Regions from separate parts of the Homo sapiens genome. Here all the other regions are linked to region 4. The links are contacts of gene promoters, found by promoter capture Hi-C in blood cells and fetal thymus (Javierre and others, 2016). All regions are on one chromosome and are shown on one strand. The core of a region is centred on a gene start or on the middle of the fragment in contact, and the rest is flanking DNA. Distances in the headings are between cores, read along the strand shown.

Evidence for each region. Contacts are between HindIII fragments. The CHiCAGO score rates a contact against its expected background, and 5 or more counts as called.
Region 1: a fragment that was not itself captured here is called in contact with the fragment with the promoter of TACR1 in region 4 in 4 of 17 cell types (megakaryocytes, erythroblasts, total B cells and 1 more); the score reaches 11.9 in megakaryocytes.
Region 2: a fragment that was not itself captured here is called in contact with the fragment with the promoter of TACR1 in region 4 in 3 of 17 cell types (megakaryocytes, total B cells and erythroblasts); the score reaches 9.2 in megakaryocytes.
Region 3: a contact is called between a fragment that was not itself captured here and the fragment with the promoter of TACR1 in region 4, in 1 of 17 cell types (megakaryocytes). The highest score is 6.8, in megakaryocytes.
Region 5: a contact is called between a fragment that was not itself captured here and the fragment with the promoter of TACR1 in region 4, in 3 of 17 cell types (megakaryocytes, erythroblasts and total B cells). The highest score is 8.1, in megakaryocytes.

What each region holds. Positions count from the first base shown.
Region 1 is chr2:75,388,294-75,391,404 of GRCh38, forward strand. No RefSeq gene overlaps it. Among named protein-coding and RNA genes, the nearest start is that of EVA1A-AS, 130 kb to the right of the region's middle. The HindIII fragment of the contact is 2,840 bases long and covers 1-2,723 here.
Region 2 is chr2:75,364,963-75,367,900 of GRCh38, forward strand. No RefSeq gene overlaps it. Among named protein-coding and RNA genes, the nearest start is that of EVA1A-AS, 160 kb to the right of the region's middle. The HindIII fragment of the contact is 1,770 bases long and covers 523-2,292 here.
Region 3 is chr2:75,345,155-75,348,052 of GRCh38, forward strand. LOC105374810 (a long non-coding RNA gene) reads left to right here. Exons shown (of 4, transcript XR_007087112.1): 1 at 1-923; 2 at 1,459-1,688; 3 at 2,200-2,269; 4 at 2,688-2,898. Among named protein-coding and RNA genes, the nearest start is that of TACR1, 150 kb to the left of the region's middle. The HindIII fragment of the contact is 1,927 bases long and covers 346-2,272 here.
Region 4 is chr2:75,197,996-75,200,825 of GRCh38, forward strand. It overlaps TACR1 (tachykinin receptor 1), which reads right to left and starts at 1,525. Exons shown (of 5, transcript NM_001058.4): 1 at 551-1,525. The coding sequence starts at 939. All of the region lies in intron 2 of TACR1-AS1 (TACR1 antisense RNA 1), which reads left to right. The HindIII fragment of the contact is 965 bases long and covers 1,165-2,129 here.
Region 5 is chr2:75,437,908-75,440,895 of GRCh38, forward strand. No RefSeq gene overlaps it. Among named protein-coding and RNA genes, the nearest start is that of EVA1A-AS, 85 kb to the right of the region's middle. The HindIII fragment of the contact is 3,404 bases long and covers 32-2,988 here.

The sequences.
Region 1 (3,111 bases), core at 54-2,553, 190 kb after region 4:
GAAGTTATCCCCCTTCAAGAGGATTGCTCAGTTAGATTTTTGCTAGGGCTTGCCCAAATAAGTTTGGGCTACTTCTAAACCCCTGAGGTAGTATTGTCCAGGTAGTATTGGAGTTATTGGCTAAGAATTTAGGTAGCTTTCCTTGTAGAAATAGGGCTATTAGAAAGATGAATTCAGAGGTCAGGTAAATATTAAGTGAGCACTGATCTTGGAACACACAGTCTTGCCCCAAAGAGGTGTGGGGCATTTAGACATTACCAGGGACTGGTGGGAGAATGATAATTAGTCCCTTAAGCAAAATAAAGAGGTGTGAATCTTTTGTTTTGGAGGGAGAGGATGTCATTTTCCCCAATTACCCAACAGGCTTAGCCTTGACCTCCTTATTCTGCTCTCAGTTATAAAAGACTGAGGAGGCTAATCTGAGGACCTCCTGCACAAAGACACTGGGTTCCAAGGCTGGCTTTTGTAATTTCCTCCCAGTTCATTTTTAAGCCAAGCAATATTACAAAGGAAATCTAGTTTTTTTGTTTTAAGGTTTGGGGGAATTAAACTGCAGTTTTGGGGGATGGATTTGAGCAGCATGTTTTGTGGGATGGAGATACAATTACCAATCTGTGAAGAAAAAAACAGAGGAAGAAGAAAAGGAAAAAGAAAAAAGAAGGTGTCCCTCCCTTTTTTTTTTTTTTATTATCCTGAATGGGGCATCTCCCATCGTCCTTGAGTTCTGGAATGAACCGGCTTTACTGTGTACCCTTGGTCCCATCTCATCACAATTACTTGACAACAGAGGAGATCTGGAGTGAAGATTTGGTTCCCTCTTCATCCTTGAGGTTCCTAAATAACTGGTCTTACTGGTTACCCCGCCTAATCTTTCATCTGTGTTCCAATGGTAATCCATTAGGCTGAGACCACCCTTCATTTCTGTTCTGTGAGTCTCTTGCATGTGCAGCCTTGGGCCTGACTAGAGCCTTATCTCCTTGGCCTTATAGTGACTCTCACTCACAGCATTTTGGTAATAAGATGATTATCTCTTTTCTTAGATTTCCATTTCCTATGTTCTTGTAAGTAGATGAGAAGCCAGTTTTTTAAAGCTAACTGCCAAAAGGAGGCTGTACTTCCCTCTCCACTCCCTTGGGATATGACCTTGAAGGTTGTGATGCATGATAAGGGTGTGTAAGAGATTAAGAGAAGTGGAGTCTACAGGAGGAAGTGAGAGAAAGTAAGAGCAATACTCATGGGAAGTGTTCACATGCTCGTGAAAACAGCAGCCCTTGGATTCAAGAGGGAAACATTTATTTGCCCTCTGGACATAAAGTAGTAATGTCTGGAGGACTTGAGGTGTGGGAAAAGAACTCGAAAATGGCAAAGGAAGAATTTCCCCTCTTCCCAAAGGGGTGCTTACTTGAAAAAAAAAAAAAAAAAAGGCCAGGCACAGTGGCTCACGCCTATAATCCCAGCACTTTGGGAGGCTGAGGTGGGCGGATCATGAGGTCAGGAGATCAAGACCATCCTGGCTAACACAGTAAAACCCCTTCTCTACTAAAAATACAAAAAAAATTAGCCTGGCATGGTGGCATGCACCTGTATTCCCAGCTACTCAGGAGGCTGAGGCAGGAGAATGGCATCAACCCAGGAGGCGGAATTTGCAGTGAGCTGAGATTGCACCACTGCACTCCAGCCTAGGTGACAGAGTGAGACTCGGTCTCAAAAAAAAAAAAAAAAAAAAAAAGAAGAAAAGAAAATAGGTGGACTCCTTATAGGACCAGAGTCCTTTAAGGATTTAAGTCCAGTATGCACGCTGACAATCTGCTTTGAAAGCCACCAAAAAACTCAGTCCTGGGGCATAACAGGAACAAAAAGCATATACTAAGTCATAAGGAACTGGCAAAGGCAGAGTTCCAATTAGTATCTGTCCCAGCCATATGCCAATGGGCAGGAGAAGGGCTGGAGGTTATTTGAGCTGCTAGGGTAAAAACAAGTATCAATTTCAGGGGATATCTACAAGAGAGCCCATGTCTCTGCTGCTGCATATATGCAGAGAGCCGTGGGCACAAGAATAACAAGGAGTATTTGTTTAAGAAGTCACATGGCATGCAAAGTGAAAGCAAAGACAGAGACTTGCCCCTGGAAATGGATGATCTGGCAGGTACGCAAGGCCATCTCGGAATACACACATTGAAAAGAGGAGAATGGGAGGTGCAGGTCTTTGGGAAAGAGCTGATTTTAGTTGAAAAAGCAGAGGAAACCCAAAACATTGCATGGTTTTAGGCCTTAGTCCTACCACTTGAGCCTCCTGTCCAGGAGGGTCATTTTAGTACCTTAGATCTATTTGGTGCAGAACCTAATTTCCTTCCCACCCCTGTGAGCCACCCATCAGAACGAGCTGAGAAACCCACCAGGAGGTGGGCAGAGTCACTTACGGTCAAGAAGAATTGTTCTGGAGGTTGGTTAGTAAAGAGGAGAGAGAAAGGGGAGAAGAAAACTGCATACAGGGGCTGAATGCCTCTAGCTGAAGAAGGTGAGGTGTAGAGATCTCTTACCACTAGGAAAGTGGTGGAAGTTATCCATGTCACCCGGCACCAAAATATGTTACTGGTGGTGAATTCCTTTGGAACTGCAGCAACCTCAATTCTTGTTCCTCAGAAGAAACAATTTGACTGAGGGGCATAAGGCAGAAAAAGAGACCAAGGCAAGTTTCAGAGCAGGAGTGAAGTTTATTAAAAAGCTTTAGAGCAGGAACAAAAGGAAGGAAACAAAAGTACACTTGGAAGAGGCCCAAGTGGGCATCTTGGAGGTCAAGTGCCCAGTGTGACCTTGAACCTAGGATTTTATATGCTACTGCCATCTGGTGTTTTGCACCCCTTTTCCCTTGATTCCTCCCTTAGGGTGAGCTGCCTGCATGCATGATGGCCTGCTAGTACTTGGGAGGTGAGCATGCACAGTGGGTTTACTGGAGTTGTACACATGCTCACCTGAGGCTTTCTTCCCTTTTATGGTGGAATGCCCCCAGAAGAAGGTCATACTCTGCTGTTTTGCCTCTTAATGCACGTGCTTGAGCCTACCCACCCAATTCCTGAAAGCTGTTAATTACCAATTTCAGATGCTTCTGAT
Region 2 (2,938 bases), core at 158-2,657, 170 kb after region 4:
TTATGATATTGGCTATGGGTATGTCATAGGTGCCTCTGATTTTTTTTTTTTTTTTTTTTTTTTTTGAGACGGAGTCTGGCTCTATTGCCCAGGCTGGAGTGCAGTGGCACGATCTCCACTCACTGCAAGCTCCGCCTCCCGGGTTCATGCCATTCTCCTGCCTCAGCCTCCCGAGTAGCTGGGACTACAGGTGCTCGCCACTACACCCGGCTAATTTTTTGTATTTTTAGTAGAGACAGGGTTTCACCGTGTTAGCCAGGATGGTCTTGATCTCCTGACCTCGTGATCCGCCCACCTCGGCCTCCCAAAGTGCTGGGATTACAGGCGTGAGCCACCTATTTTGAAGAATTGTCCTTCGATGCCTAGTTTCTTGAGGGTTTTTGTCATGAAGGGATGTTGGATTTTGTCCAAAGTTTTTTCCACATCTATTGAGATGATGATATGGCTTTTGTTTTTAATTCTGTTTATGTGATGAATTTATCAATTTGCATTTGTTGAACCAACCTTTCATCCCAGGAATGAAGCTTACTTGATTATGATGTATTAACTTTTTGATATGCTGCCAGGTTCAGTTTGCCAGTATTTTGTTGAGGATTTTTACATTTATGCTCGTCAGGGATATTGGACTGTAGTTTTCTTTTCTTACTGTGTTTTCACCAGGTTTTTGTATTGGAGTATTGCTGGCTTCATAGAATGAATATTGGGGGAGTCCTTTCTCCCTGATTTTTTTGACATAGTTCCAGTAGGAGTGGTATCAACTCCTCTTTGTACATCTGGTAGAATGCAGCTGTGAAATCCATCTTGTCCAAGGCTTTATTTTTGGTGGGTAGTTTTTTTTTAAATTACTGATTCAATTTCACACCTTTATTTTGGTCTGTTCAGAGTTTCAATTTCTTCCTAATTCAATATTTGGAAATAGTGTGTTTCCAGGAATTTATCTATTTTCTCTACATTTTCTGATTTGTTTGCATAGAGGTATTCATAATAGTCTCTTAGAAACTTTTATATTTCTGTGAGATTGGTTGGAATGTCACCTTCATCATTTCTGATTGTGCTTATTTGGTTCTTCTCTCTTTTTTCCCTTTTTAATCTAGCTAGTGGTCTATCAATCTTGTTTATCCTTTTGGGTCTCTATTTCATTGAGTTCTGCTCTGATTTTAGTTATTTCTTTACTTCTACTAGCTTTAGGGTTTGTTTGTTCTTGTTTTTCTAGATTTTGTAAGTGTAATGTTACATCATTAATTTGAACCCTTTCTAACTTTTTGAGATAGCTGTTCAGTACTATAAAGTATCCTCTTAATACCACTTTTGCTGCATCCCAGGAATTTTGGTATGTTGTGTCTCTGTTTTCATTTATTTCAAATAATTTTTTTCTGCCTTAATTTTACTGCTTACCAAAATGTCATTCAGGATCAACTATTTAATTTCAATGTTTTCAGAGATCTTCTTGGTATTGATTTCTATATTTATTCCACTTGGTATGACTTTGATTTGTTTAAAATTTACTGAGACTGGCTTTATGGCTAAGCATGTGGTCAATCGTGGCGTATGTTCCATGTGCAGATGAGAAAAATGTACACTCTGTGATTGATGGGTGGAATATTCTGTAGAGATGTCTATTAGGTCCAATTAGTCAAATGTAAAATTTAAGCCCAAAACTTATTTGTTTTCTCCCTTGATGATCTGCCTAATGCTGTCAGTGAGGTATTGACGTCCTCTACTATTATTGTGTGGCTAAGTCTTTTCATAGATCCAGAAGTACTTGTTTATGAATCTGGGCTCCAGTGTGGATGGAGTGTGTATATATTTAAGACAGTTAAGTGCTGTTGTTGAATTGAACCCTTTATCATTATGTAATGTCCTTCTTTGTTCTTTGTTACTGTTATTGGTTTAAAGTCTATTTTATCTGATATAAGAATCGTGATCCCTGCTTTTTTATTTGTTACATTTGCATGACAGGTCTTTTTCTAACCCTTTACTTTCAGCCTATGGGAGTAACATGTGAGATGAGTCTCTTGAAGACAGGAGATGAATGGACCTTGTTTTTTTAAGCCAACTTGCCACTCTGTGCCTTTCATGTGGAACATTTAGACAATTCACATTTCAGGTTAATATTGATATGTGAGGTTTTGATTCTGTCATGAAGCTCTTAGCTTTATAGTTTCTATTGCATGGTTGCTTTATAGGGTCTGTGGGCTATGCACTTGTGTGTTTTTTGGTAGCAGGTATTGTTCTTTCATTTCTATGTTTAGAATTCCCTTAAGGATCGCTAGTAAGGTTGGTCTAGTGGTAAGCTTGTCTGGAAAAGATTCTGTTTCTCCCTCATTTATGAAGCTTAGTTTGGTGGTACATGAAATTCTTGTTTGGAATTTCTTTTCTTTAAGAATGCTGAAAATGGGGGAATATGTCCTATGCTGGAACACCAGGATCTGATACCCCAGGATGACTGCTTAGAGAGGAAGGAGGTCATGGCTCTGAACAAACATTCCTGCCATTACAGGGCATTATTGGTGCTCACAGTTTGCAGGACCTGGCAGCGCAATGACTTCAGAACATTTCAATAATAATGAAAAATCAGCAATTAATTCCTGGGCAGAAGTAGTATCATTGTGAGCTCAGACAAGTTAAAGAGGCTGGGTGGTTGATTGCATCAACTGTGCAAACAAAACCCTCAGGCAATTTCTATTTTCTGAATGATGTTACTCTCCTCCCTGGATTTGTGAGGGGGGATATGGATTTTTTTCTCCTCTCTGCTCTAAGAAGACAATAACACTGAAGGCTTAGAAGTCTCTTTTGCTAGGACTACAGGTGGAAATTTTGCCTGCTACCCATCTCTCCAGCTATCCAGGTATGCTGAATGTAGAGATTGAGAGGAGTTTTTAGCCAGGGTATTATGAGTGTCAGAGTACCATGAGGTATAAACCAAGCTTAGCTATGT
Region 3 (2,898 bases), core at 59-2,558, 150 kb after region 4:
TGACTGTGATGTCACAAAGATAGGAATTTAGCCAGGAGGAAATACTTGCATTAGATCTTGAGGAATAAGCCCAAGTTCACCACACAAGTAAAGAATGGGGTTGGCAGTACTGTCCTTACATGGGCCAAGAAGGGTACCCCATGCTTTCAGGATCCTGCTGTGTCCTTTCTCTAGCTCTGCACCACCCTATGTTTCTGCTTTCTAGAACCGGTTTCAACCACCCAGTGCCCCAGAGTTCCCTACCCAAACATCCCCAAACTCCCTTCCAGGCCTGCACTGGACTTTTCCCCAAGTCCGTACTCTTAAAGGCCAGAATGTGCTGATAGTGTGTGTACCCTAGGCCCAAGCTTTGGGGTGATGTTGGGGAGGGTGAGTGGAGCTTAGATTAAGTGGTCCATACATCTATACCCAAAAGCGTTTGTTGAATTGGAGAAAGCCAGGGAGCAGAGAGCAGTGGAGCGGGCTGGCATATTCTACAGCAGTAAGTTCCAGCATGGAAAAATCCAAGGAGCCTGAAAATTCTAAATCTGAGCTTGGCCTTCAGGTCATTATGAAGATATATTTGTCACATAGGAAGACAGAATGCATTTTTACATAACAGTTTGTTGGCTTGATTTATAACTTTTAAATGTATGCATGTTTGATAGGTGTGCTTCCATTTATGCTCTTGCCTTGGGCTGCAGAAATGTTAGGGCAGGCCTGGAAGCAAGGCACAGAGATGGTTCTGAGCCGACAGAAGAGAGACAGAAAGGTCCAGAGGTGTAATTTGGGAATCCAATCACAAGCAGGTTGGTGTGACCACAGAATGACTTGGAAATTGGCTAGTTATGCATGTGTTCATCTTTCCCTCCAGACGGTATATTCTCTGAGGTCAAATGCCATGGAACATTCATTCCTGTGTTTGGCAGAACATTTTATACAGAGTAAGCCCTCAATTTATGGTAGATGAATTCATGTTGAACTAATGAGGTGATATACATTACTTAGAGGGAAACCACAAATACACTTACACTTTCCACCATTAACTTATCATTAAGACAGCTGTAGTTAAATCAATAATAAAACCTTAATTTATATCAACTGATACATGTTACATGTGGAGTGGGTCTATGCTATTTTGGTTTAGTCACAGATAACTGGTAATAAGTAAAATAAGAAAAACAAAAATGTGGCTAATATGCAAGTGTTGTGTCTCAGTTTACTTTTCTAAAAAATAGGGGCTTATTGTGCTAACCCAAGCCACTATAGGCAGGAACGTGACCATGCATCGAGCACTCAGAGGGGCAGGCATTCTAGGAGATAGATCTCCAATGAGAGCTTGGCACCCTCTGACCCTCTGACCTGTTCACAAGGCCCAGCCATGTTCACTGTTGAGTGCAGGGTCTTTCCAACACAGTTTAGAATGAATTGTATGTGTAAGATTTCTAAGTTTTTGAATGTTCTTTTTTTCTTTCACAGGCATAAGGCAGCCAAGAAGGATGAGCCGGTGATCTCTGCAGTCTGCCCATAACTCCACACAAAACTTTACCCATTGTCACAGGAGAGTATAAGCATAGCATAAAGATCCTCGTAGATGGACTTTCAGCTCCATGCTTAAAGCAACTGACAAGAATCCATTTCTTTTCAGTGTACAAGTGAAGGGTAAAAGACAGAGAAGGAAGATAGAGCATAGGAAAAAGAGTGGGGTGGTGAGTGAATGATAAATAGGTGGCAGTCCTGTGTACGATAAAGATCTCCCTGAACTCCTATCATCCCATTCCCTTCTCTGCCCTCTAGGTACCATCTGTGCATGTGGACACTGACACCACAACCGCATATCTGCTTACCTCTTGCAGTGCTCTGTAGTCTGCACCTACTATGAAGTCCTTCCATCTCCTTGCACACATCATTTCTCTCAGCTCTGCACTTTGGCACATGGAGTTCCCTTTTCTCCTCTCTTCCTCCCACCTGCCTCTTCAAATGGTGACATCTTACTCACCCCTCCCATCTGATCACAATGCTCAGGGATGCTCCCTTTGGCCTTTCGATCCTGGTTAGTTACCCTTTGGCCTGCTTCCATAGTTTCCTATATTTCCCCCATAATAGCATTAGTACATGATATTGCAAATTTCTGTTTACTTATGTGTATCTTGCACTAGACTGAAAGCTCTGTGAAGATAAGGAACTGTGCCCTCACAGCCTTGCTCATGTTCTCCACAGATATTTGTCCATTCATTTGTTGAAGAAATGGTTAAATAAAGGAATGAATGACTAAAGACCAGGTTGGCAGGTAAGCTTATGGTGGGATGCTGTGCTTTGACTGTTTGTGCCCCCACAAAATGCATATGTTGAAATCCTACCTGCCAAGATGATAGGATTAGAAAGTGGGATTTTTAGGGAGATCATTAGGTCATGAGAATTGAGCCTCATGAATGGTATTAGTGCCCTTATAAAAGGGGCCAAGAGAATTATTTGCCCTTCTGCCATGCGAGGACACAGTGAGAAGGTACCATCTATGAACCAGAGAATGGGCCCTCACCAGACACCAAATCTGTTAGTTTCTTGATCTTGGACTTCCTAGCCTCCAGAACAGTTAGAAATAAATTTCTGGTGTTTATAAGCTACCTACTTTCTGGTATTAGGTGTTCTGTTATAGCAGCCCAAATAGATTAAGATGTGGAGCCTAAACTTTACATTCATTTATTTAGGTGAAAGCCAGGGCAGGGGCCTGGGGCAGCAGGCAGAGACACAGCTCTCACAAATGCAAGAGGAAGACGAATCAGGCACTCGTCTGTTCTTCAAAGGATACAGAATGGTTTTATTGACCACCTGTACATGTGATGGCTTTCATCCTGGAGGAGAAGGGCATATCCACACCTACCGAATATCTGTTTCACAGGCAATGTGCCAATTATTTAC
Region 4 (2,830 bases), core at 275-2,774:
CCAACGAACCAACCAACCAAACAACAACAACAACTACAACAACAAACTGGAGAGTTGCAGTGGGAGCAGAAAGTCCCAGAATCCTCTAGGTGTACTTAAAACAGGAAGGCAACAAGAGGCTGTCTGACAGAAAAACAGGCCTGGAGGAATTTACAAAGCCCCTTCCAGGGTCTAGTCCTTTGACCAAACCCTAGGTATTGTTTGCAGCCTGCAAGGGTAAAGGGGAGAAGGAATATATGGAAAGGAGCAAAGCAGAAGTTGAAAGTGTCAGGAAGATGAGTGGAGAAGAGATGAAGAAAGGGGAGTTAAATGAAGAAAAGGGGGATGTGTGTTGAAAGGAAGAGAGAGAGTGATGGGTAAAAAAGAGGAAAAAAAGTTGAAATACATAAGATGAAGTTCCCCATCAACAAATGACTCAGTTGATCAGTAAAAAAACCCTCAGAGTGGCCAATCTTCCACTTGACCCATACCCCACCCAGTTCCAAACCTCACAGCAATGCCGTGGTCCTCTATGAGCACTTTCTCGCCTTTTCACAAAGGCTAATCTCACCTATCAAAGGCCACAGCCGTCATGGAGTAGATACTGGCGAAGACAGCGGCGATGGGAAAGAAGTTGTGGAACTTGCAGTAGAACAGGCCGTAGTACCATTCGTTGTGGACAGCATAGGTGAAGTTCACCACTGTATTGAATGCAGCCATGGAGGCCTCCGCGAAGGCCAGGTTCACCAGAAAATAGTTCGTCACTGTCCTCATTCTTTTGTGGGCTAAGATGATCCACATCACTACCACGTTGCCCACCACAGAGGTCACCACAATGACCGTGTAGGCAGCTGCCCAAAGGACAATTTGCCAGGCTGGTTGCACGAACTGATTGGGTTCCGAGGTGTTAGTGGAGATGTTTGGGGAGAGGTCTGAGTCCACCGGGAGGACGTTATCCATTTCGAAGCTAGGCGGTAAAGCCCTACTATCTGTACACAACCCCCCTCTGCAGCAGAGTCCTGTGGCTGGCGCCTGGGGCTCAGGGTCCTTCTAAAGCCAGACAGGAGGGTGGAAGGCTTTTTCTGGGCAGCACTCTTTTTGAAAGCTGAACTGGCGCTCAGAATATAAACGCTTCTGGATGCACTGCCCGCCTGCCCGCGGTGGCTCTGAATTCCTCCACTTTCAAGCTTCAGGAGACGTTTGAGTTCAGAAGTCTGGAGACAGCATCTCTCTTGCGGTAAACTGAAAAAGGGAAAGAAATTCCACCGGTCACAGTTCTAGGAAGCAAGAGATCCCCCGCATTTATGCACCTGCTGCTGCCTGCAACTCCTATTTCTCCTTCCTCCGCAGGGAAAGGCAAAGCCCTGTGCTGCGTGAGGACTTAGGAGCGAAGTGGGGGCCCATTGCAGCGCGACCTGTAAAAGTTCTGAGCCTATGGCCAGGATTCTGGAGCTTCGTATCCAGCTGGAGATTTTTCCTTCTCTTTTGCTGCCGCTGCCGCCGCCTGCAGTTTCGCGGGCACCTCTCGGTTCGGGTTGCTCAGCTCGCGAGTTAGCTGCGCACGAGGCTTTTATAACCCCCTGCAGAGACGTCACTGGGAAGGGGCAGTACCTGGGCTGCGTACTCGCCAGTCCCGGTGCGCAGCGCGGCAGCTGCGCCAGCTGTTGACAACTGTCTCATTCCACCGCCGCAGCTACCACGCCTTTTGCTGCTTGCTACTTGCCGTGGGAGTCTGCGAGCCGGGAGCCCCACGCACTCCGCGAGGGGGCAGTAGGTGGCTTGGAAGTAACTGACACAGATGCGGTCCGCAGCTGGAATCGTCGTTGCACGAGGGGTGCTGGGAGGAAGGAAGGATTTGGGAAACAGCTGGAGTGGAGGACAATCAACTTCCAGGGAATGAAGCCCAGAGCCCTGAGACAGCTCTGCAGAGGCGGCTTGCCTGTGGCAATGGGAAACGGTCATGTGTGGGGGCGATGTGCCAGCGCCGCGCTCCGGGCCGCGCTCCAGCTACCGAGAAGCCAGAGGCGACGACTCCCTGGTCCAGGTGTCCCGAAAACAACTTTCCTGAGGCTGTGTTTAGGAAACACCCCCACAAAATATCTAGCTCAGTTACCTGGCTAGCTGATTCACCTGGGAAGTGACAGTCTCTAAGCTTTGAGGACACTTTCCTCAGCCACCCTGGTGACTTGGCCCCTCGTTCCAGGAGAAGCTCCATTTGAGCCCTCCACCTGACCCCTCTGGATGAGCCTCTGCTCAATCACTGGGGACAGGGCTGAGCTCCCTGCGAATCTTGGTGAGCGCAGGAGCCACACTCATAGGCAGCTTGTCGCTCAGACGCGCGGCTCTGGGCTCTCCGCCAGCAATCACTGCGGCGCTGCGTTTGCCTCCCGGGGACCTGGCAGCCTCCGCCTCCGCGCCTGCCAAGCCTGCAGGCCAGAGCCGGGCTCGGGGTGGCATCGGTGGTCCTTCTCCCTGTTCCCCTTCCAGGTTTGCATAGGGGCTGGAGGACAGGTCAGCCAGCCTTCTCTGCCCGCCTCCATCCTGCCCTGCCGTCTTCTGACTTTGAGGCCTCGTATCCCAGTCCAAGACCATTTCAAACGGTAGAACTGGTGCCAGACACTTGGAGGAGGCAGGGCAAAGACTCGCCAGTCCGTATAAACCCTTTTGGAGAAGCCAAGATGGGATGAGCTCCGCAGCACGTTCCCGCCAGACTGCTGCAGGCAGAGTTCCGCGGAAAACTGAACCCCGGGAGTCCTCAGGGGCCCATCTACCCCGGTGCACCGCCCCCTCCTTTCACTGCGGGGACTCGGAGCTGTGGGACTGGAGCGCGCACCGGCAGACTTGCGCGCAG
Region 5 (2,988 bases), core at 484-2,983, 240 kb after region 4:
AACACACAACCTATTATTGAACGCTTCCAAAAGCTTTGGATAAAGAATCTGGAGACTATTTTGACATTTTCTTTGAGTATAGACATCTTTGAAAATTTTCAAATTAAAGAAATACACAAATAAAAATATTCTATTAAAAAATAAAGGTAACCACTCTTGGCTTTTAAAGTAACTGCTGTGGTTTGCTTCACAATTTTATCACTTACTAACATGTTCCCTATACATCAGATTTGCCTGCTTTTGAACTGCTATCATACAGTATGTACTCTGATTCTGTCTTCTGTTTAGCATTGTTTCTGAAATTTAACAATTTTGTTACATGCCAGCTATAATTTATTCATTTTCATTGCTGTAAAGTGAATTATTGTCTTCATGAAATAAAATATATCTATCCTAAAAAAAAAAAAAAAAAGAAAAGAATGACACCACCAAATGCTGGCAAGGATGTGAAGAATCTGGGTCACCGATATATTGCCATTGGTACAAATCCTCTGGAAAACAATTTGCAATTTCTTTAAAAACTAAGCATGCAACTACCATATAGCGCAGTAACTGTACTCCCAGAAATTTATTATAGAAAAATGAAGACATATATTCACACAAAAAACCTGTATACAAATATTTATAGCTGCTTTATTCATAATAGCCAAAAATTAGAAACAACCTAGATATTCTTCAGTGGATAGATGGTTAAACAAACTGTGGTACATCAACACTACGGAATACTACTCAGCAACTGAAAACAAATGAACTATGGATACACTCAACAACCTGGATGAATCACCAGAGAATTACGACGAGTGGAGAAAAACAGCCAATCTCATATGGTCATATACTCTATGTTCATTTATAAAATATTTTTTAAATGACAAAGTTATAGAAGTGGGTAACAAATTAGTAGTTGCCAGGGTTAAGGAGGAGATGTGGCCCTTAAAGGGCAACCTGAAGGTTCCTTGTGGTAAGGAGAATGGTTTGTATCTTGACTCTAACGTCAATATCCTGGTTGTGATACTGTACATTAGTTTTCAAGATGTTACCACTAGGGAAACTGGGTAAAGGGTACATGGGATCTCTCAGTATTGTTTCATACAACTACATGTGAGTCTACTATTACGTTCAAATAGAAACTTTTAATTTAAAAAAAAACTAAATTAAGAAAACTGATTGGTATAGTAAGGGAGAATGACGAAAAAAGCCTCAACCATGATGGGGTCAGTATCAATAGAGAAAGAACACATTCAAAAAATATTCAGAAGGAATAATTCACAGACTTGAAGTTGCATGTCAGCTCTGCAGCTTTATGAAGGAATGAGCCCAGAGAGGGGTAACAGTCCCAAAGGAGCCTCCACAGAAACAGATACCTACAGATCTGAGCACAAAACCCTGGGAACTCTGCTACTTCACCTGCTGAAAACCAGAGAGGAAAGTCTGGAAAATAGCATTAGAGAGGTAAGAAGAAAACCAATTAGAAAAGGAAAAAACACCACAGAAACTCAGAACCTGAAGGAAGGAGTGCTAGGAATGTAGGAATAGCTCTCCAGAGAAAACCTCTCCCCAGCTGGAAAATGCTGTATTTCATTCATCTAAGATGCCGTCAATTGGAAGACATTTATATACCACAAAGGCAGAAAACAAAACAAAACTCTGCCAGTTGAATCAAAACACAGTGATTTATCTCTTAGAATTTTTACTTTGCCCTTACTAAATGAGCTCTTTTAAACTTATTAGTTAGACAGACTTCTTAATCACATATTACTCATGTATTTTTCTAATAATAAGGGTACTATATGCTTATTGTTAAAAACAAACATTTGAAAAATGCTGATAAAAGTATGGTGAAGAAAACTAAAACAGCTCATGCTCCTAGAGTAGGGTTTCTTAATCTCAGCAGTATTGACATTTTGGGATAGTTAATTCTTTGCCATCCTGTGGGGTCCATCCTGTGCATTGCAGGATGATAAGGAAAATCACTGGTCTCCACCCAGTAGATGCCAGTAGCATTTCACTCCACTCATGGCATCCAAAAACTGTCTTCAGTCATTGTCAAATGTCCCCCCGACAGAAAAAAAATTATCTCAGTTGAGAATCAATGTTTTAGAATATAGAAGGTATTGCCATTTGCACTTTGGTTATTTACTGCCAGATTTCATGTTTTAACGATGTAGATTGTAAATTCTGTGCTCAGTTCAGCCTCCTGCCTTTATTCTCTAACAGCACATCAGGGACATCTCTATTCTTATGGACACAGCATGGCTTACTGAACCATCCCCCAGCATTGGAAATTAAGGTTGTTCCCAATTTTACATCATTATGAATAATGAAATGATGACCACTGTGCACATGAATCATTTTCTGTAATTCTGATGATTTCTCTAGAATACGTATCTCATAATAGAATTAACAAACCAAACAGCACTGAGATGTCTTTAAATTGCATGAGTGGGATGTGCAGGTAGAACCCAGGGGCTAGGAACACAGTGTCCATTATTTGCCTCTCAAAATATGCCCCTGAAGACAAATGACATTCCTTGAGCTAAAATTCAAAGAGCTAAAATTAAAAAGACATCAACAAATCAGCCTTTCTCCAATTAATCAAAACTTAAATGGATAGAACTTCTAAATTTTACTTTTTACATCCAGTAAATATCTGTTAATCATAGGAAACTGCCTCTGCTTGCTGCCAGTGAGACCTAGAAAATATCAAATGAACAATTTAAAAACCAGCATTCTTGGGGGGCATAGGGAATGTATTTTCATTAAATAAATACACACACTATTTGTCAATCATGACCTTAAATTTACCAAATCTAAAGTATTCTGAAAAGAGTATCCTGACTTCTAGGTGCTCCTGACATTGAAACAATTTAAAAATTACCCATATAAATCTTTTGATTTGACATTTATTTTATTAATATAACGGTATATACTCATCTAAACATGGCTATGTTGCACCAAAAAGAAGCCAACATGAAAAAGAGACCACCAGGA